Regions from separate parts of the Homo sapiens genome. Here region 1 is linked to region 2. Evidence: promoter capture Hi-C in human tissues and cell types (Jung and others, 2019). All regions are on one chromosome and are shown on one strand. The core of a region is centred on a gene start or on the middle of the fragment in contact, and the rest is flanking DNA. Distances in the headings are between cores, read along the strand shown.

The links. Contacts are between HindIII fragments. The study calls those that stand out against the background at their distance.
Region 1: a fragment that was not itself captured here is called in contact with the fragment with the promoter of CEBPD in region 2 in 1 of the 25 tissues and cell types used here (lymphoblastoid cells).

What each region holds. Positions count from the first base shown.
Region 1 is chr8:46,995,714-46,998,413 of GRCh38, forward strand. No RefSeq gene overlaps it. Among named protein-coding and RNA genes, the nearest start is that of LINC00293, 160 kb to the left of the region's middle. RefSeq lists a silencer at 2,224-2,472. The HindIII fragment of the contact is 5,463 bases long and covers 1-2,700 here.
Region 2 is chr8:47,736,631-47,739,501 of GRCh38, forward strand. It overlaps CEBPD (CCAAT enhancer binding protein delta), which reads right to left and starts at 1,534. Exons shown (of 1, transcript NM_005195.4): 1 at 283-1,534. The coding sequence starts at 1,490. The coding sequence ends at 681. RefSeq lists an enhancer at 558-1,496 and silencers at 893-1,082, 1,573-1,682, 1,723-1,802, 1,893-2,362. The HindIII fragment of the contact is 24,041 bases long and covers 1-2,871 here.

The DNA of each region.
Region 1 (2,700 bases), core at 192-2,691, 740 kb before region 2:
AAACATATAGCATAGCCAAAATTAATGTAAAATAGGTAACAAAGAAAACTGATAGAATGCAATTTTCCAGAAATATTCATTTTGGGGGGGATTAAAATGTCACCGTCTTTATATTCAGAATATGCTGTATATTCAGAGGAATAAGAATGGAAGTTCCAGTCAGTCCGATTTTCTTTAGTCCATATTTTAAAAGACCAGTGTGTCAAGACTTGTGGGTTTGTTATATATGCAGACTAGCAAGTTCAGTTAGCCAAATATTGAGTAACTTCAAACTATCTCCAGTTGTACTGAGATCACCCATGCTAGAGAAACATTGATATTTTAATCTATTCTTCAATACTGAAAAAATTAAGGGAAAGCTTATATGTTTTTCATAATATTATTTACCAAACTAATAATATAAACTTCCATACTTACCTTGTCTCTGCCTTTATAGCCCATGAGTTGCCTTTTAGCAAACCATGCTAGAATGATATAGAGTTACTTACATCTTAGACCTATCAAAAGAGCCTCAGACATTTCATTCAGTTTGATTGATGGGAGAACATTTATCTAAGTATTTCAAAAATATTTATTGTGCACACATCTACCCCAAACATGTTACTATATGCTGGAAACAAATAGGTAAATAAGGTAGTTATGATGGCTATATTGGTCAAGTTTATATTTTAGAGAGGGAGATATGTAATACATAAGGAAACAATTAGAAGAAAATAAATACAATATTTGCTGCTTGTACTGAGATATTTTAATCAAATAGATAGATCGGCCTAATTTCTGTTGGTTGGTCAAAGACAGCCTCTTTGCAGTGCAGACTTGTGAGCTGAGAGGTGATGGAGAGAGGAAGCCAGAGAAGCTGCTTCCCACTTACTTCCCAGGCACTGCCTCTAAAGGTGATGTTTTATGTTTATACATATAGCATTCTATGATTTCATTCCATTCTGGAATGGTACTGAGTAATATAGGAGGGAGGAAATTCTAGGTCTGTGCCCTTACAATAGGCTGCGGTACTGAAAACCTCTGCTGGGGAATACTGTATGTATACATGAATATTTCCATAAACACGCTCATATCATCATGTATGTGTGTGTGTTTATTTATCTATCTATATCTGTCTATATTCATACAGAGTCACACTATAGAAAATAGAAGTATTGGTAGATGGAGGCAGTGAAAATAATATAAAAAGAAACTTCCATACATGTGAAGACCTATCTGCCCTATAAGCCATATCCACAATAGTACACAAATAAAGGTACACTCTGACATACATCCTGCTGCATTTCATATATACTAGGAAACCATTCATTTTTGTTGCTCTTCTGTGAGTAGAAAAACGTATTAAGGCCAAAGCATCATTCATTGCAAGATCGATGTTAATCCTTCCTCCTCTGGTGAGCACCAGGCCAGAGATGAACCAGCCCCAGTCCAAAGGCCCTCGCCCAAATCTGAGAATGCCGACTTCTTCTCTTCAGGCTTTTCATCAGGACAGGAGCTTTATTTTTTTTCTATAAATGTGTGATGTAGGAATACACTCTTGTCGTTAATTTTTGCTGGCTGGAGAAAGGTCTTTTTGGTTATGGGAAGAGAAGCCTAGATATATTCCCTGAAAATAGACTGTTGTACTGAGAGCAAATGTTAGGGTGCATGGTACCTGGGCAAAAGGCAACAGGCCAGGGTCAACATGCACTCTAGGGCCAAAACTGGCTGTATCGGTCAGGCCAATTGTTCTTTTTGTCAAAGGCTTTACCCACTGATGTTAGCCAGCTCTTCCCAGTCCTAGCTGAATGGACAGAACCCCACTGGGCTGGTTTCCTGAGCCCTTGAATTAAAAACACCTGGGTGCCAGGTAACACGGACTTTGTCACAGGTAGGAGAATGGAGTATGGTGTGTGGCTTGGATTAGATTCACCTGTAGTGAGCTAATTGGCTGATTGGATTCACTTGGGCTGGAGCAGCTGAAATGAGAGATGACCACTGACCTAGTTTTTTTATGGGGCTTTCTTTTGTATATAGATAGGCACATAAGTAAACGCACACATACAGCATTATATGAGTATGTCTATGTAATGTTCATTTGTAAGTATGTCTGTGTAAAAAATCCCCAAATAAAATCTAGATTAAAGGTCATTTCAGATTACAGCCCCTGCAGCCCAGGTGAGTCAAATCAGCCAGTTAGCTCAGGCCAGGTGAGTCCAGTAAGCCAATGAGGTGACTCGGGACTGCTGAAGCATCAAGCGAAGCCAACAAGAATGGATGCGAAGAACACAGACATCCCTCGAGAAGGAGTGTAGGGCCCTGAGGTGCTGAGTGGGACATGACGCCTTATATGGCAGCACAGCTTGCTCACTTCCTGGACCTTTTGCCTGAAGGTGAAGCTTTATCTTTATATGGACAACATTCTATGGTTGTGTTCCATCCTGGAATGGTATTGAACCATATAGGAGGGAAGAAAGACAAGATCTATGCCCTTACGATAGGCTGGAGTATTGAAAACATCTGTTGGGAAATATTGAATGTACACTGAATATTTCCAAAGGCATCTCATATAATACTCTATGCCTGTGTTTATCTACCTGTCTATACCTATATCCATATATGTATATATCGATATTCATACAGAGTAAAAGATATACAAGGTAAAAGTATTGCTAGGTATTAAAATAATAATATTAAAAAAGTTTCCATACATGTAAAGAC
Region 2 (2,871 bases), core at 284-2,783:
CTGCTGGAAAGCTGCTAGCTTACCTGAGCTCAGCCGTGCTCCACCTAGCTTAGGCAAGTTAAATAAGGCCAGGAGAGAGCCTTTAATGCGTTTTAAAAGCGACAGACCCTCTCTCCTGAGTAGCTCGGGCCTGCGCCCCATCCCCCCGCCCCCCCCACACACACACCTGGCGCCCGGGCTCCCTGGTGCTCGCTGGCTGCGGGTCCGGAACGCACCCTTCCCGAGCCGGGTCCTGCGCCACCGGCGGGCGGGCGGGAGTCACTGCGAATATAGGAAGCAGGGGCGATTTCAAATGCTGCTTTATTCTTACAAATACTGTAAAAATTAATATAAAAAAGTGAGCATGCTCAGTCTTTTCCTCTTATCTACAATACAAAGGGTTTGTCTGAAAAGTCTGGTTTTTTTTCTTTTTACAAATGTACCTTAGCTGCATCAACAGGAGTAAGATGTAGAAAAAGCTACCATTACAAAAATAATTTAAGGGAAAATAAACACGTTTAGCTTCTCTCGCAGTTTAGTGGTGGTAAGTCCAGGCTGTAGCTTCTTTGCGCTCCTATGTCCCAAGAAACTGCAGCGGGCACCCGGCGGCTCTGGCTGCGCCAGGGCAGGGCGCGCTCCGCTCCGGGCCGTCGGGTCTGAGGTATGGGTCGTTGCTGAGTCTCTCCCGCCCCGGCCGCGCGTTACCGGCAGTCTGCTGTCCCGGCGGCCGGCAGGAAGGGCGGGCTGGGCAGCTGCTTGAAGAACTGCCGGAGGCCGGCCAGGTCCCGCGTGAGCTGCTCCACGCGCTGGTGCAGCTTCTCGTTCTCAGCCGACAGCTCCACCAACTTCTGCTGCATCTCCTGGTTGCGCCGCTTGGCCTTGTCGCGGCTCTTGCGCACGGCGATGTTGTTGCGCTCGCGCCGCTGCCGGTACTCGGGGCTGCCGCGGTCCGGGCCCCTCTTGCCGGCGCTCTTCTCCCGGGCGGGGCCGGGCGCGGGGGTCTGCCTGGGGCTGCTGCGCGGCGGCTCCGGCGACGTGGGCGGGGTGGGCTGCCCTGCGGCCGCCAAGCTCACCACGGTCTGTGCGCACGCGGCCACCTGCGCGGGCAACAGCGAGCCGGGCGCGTCGCCGTCGCCCCAGTCGGGCTCGCGCTTGAGCAGGCGGGGAGCGGCAGGGCCCGGGCCCAAGGGGCGCGCGGGGCCGCCGGGAAGAAGCTCCAGGGGCCCCGCGCCGCCCGCCTTGTGATTGCTGTTGAAGAGGTCGGCGAAGAGCTCGTCGTGGCACAGCTCCAGGGTGGGCACGGCGGCCATGGAGTCGATGTAGGCGCTGAAGTCGATGGCGCTCTCGTCGTCGTACATGGCGGGGGCGGCGGCGCCTGGCTCGCCTAGGGCCCCTGGCTCGGCCCCGCGGCCCGGCTTGCCCGCCCGGCCCGGTTCGTAGAAGGGCGCAGGCTCCGCAGGCCAGGGCGCGCCGCGCGCCGGGCCGTCCAGGCTGAAGAGCGCGGCGCTCATGGCGGCGTCGGGCCGGGCTCTGCGTCCAAGCGAGGCTGTCACCTCGCTGGGCCCAGCCCCGCCGCCTTTTCTAGCCCCGGCTGACGTGCACGCCCCGCCCCGACTCCGGCACCGCGGGGGCGCCCCGGGGCCGCGGGGGAAGGGGCGGGGGCGCCCTGGGAGCCCCCCGGAGCCGCCCCGAGCCTTCCCGGGGCGCGCCCCCTCTCAGTTCCTCCCCGGGGCCCCCTCCCCGGCCCTGGGGACCCCCAGCCCACGTTGCAGGAGGGTGCCCGCGCTGCTGCTCCCTCCCCGGCCCGGGCCGGCCTGCGCTGCGCTGCTGGGAATGACACTCCCTCTGCCAGCACTCCAGGGCCTTCTCTTCTTCCTGTTTGTGGGCTTGGAACCTCCTCGCTCCTCGGGGTTGGGAGTGAAATCAAAACCAGGACTTGGCCGCAGCGCGCGCGTCCCAGGCCGGCTCCTGTCGCCGGAGGGCGGGGGGTGGAGACCCGTGGGAGAGGACCCGCGCGTCCAAGGACGCCCCCCGACCGTGGGCACGCGCGTGAGGCCCTCGCCCCGCGCCTCCACCGTGGGACCAGATGCGGGAAGAGGCGTGGGGGACCAGACGTGGGGACAGCGGCGGCCTGGCAGGCGGGGAGGGCTGCCCGCACCGCACTCGGGCGCCTCGGGGAATCCGGGCCGGTTCTCGCTGCTCTCCTCGGAGGTCCCGGGTCCGGCCGGCCCTGGGGGTCGAGGCCCAGAGACGCGGCTGCTGCGTCCTGGCCGAAAGGCCGACGGGACGCTGTCGCCAAAAGCAGAGCAGATGGGGGAGACGCGGTCACGACACCGCGTCCTCCGCCGGCTCCTCGAGGTGCGGGCTCTCCGGCCGGACGCTACTCCCCGACCCCGCAGACCCGGGCGTCCGCCGCCAGCTCCCGCGCCCGCGTTTCTTCCAGGTCTACGGAAGCAGTGCCATCGTGTGGCGGCATCTTGCGTTAGACCTGTTTTTAGTTCCAGGCTCTTTCCCTGTTAAATATTCCAAAAAAGTGCCTTGAACCTAAAGTAGTTGGGTCCTTTTTGGGAAACAGGTAAGATCTACCAGTAGCTATAGCAGGGTGCAGATGGGCCTCGACTCACGATGGGGTTACATCCCGGTAGACCCATCGCACACTGAAAATGTCTTAAGTAAGAATGGGCTTTGTCATGTGTCCTGCAATTTGAGGCAGGCATTTCTGGTCAGACCCATTTATTATTTTAAATTAAAAATATGGTTTTTTTCAGCCGAGCACAGTGGCTCATGCCGGTAATCCCAGCATTTTGGGAGGCTGAGGTGGGCGGATCACTTGAGGTCAGGAGTTTGAAACCAGCCTGGTCAACATGGTGAAACCCCATTTCTACTAAAAAT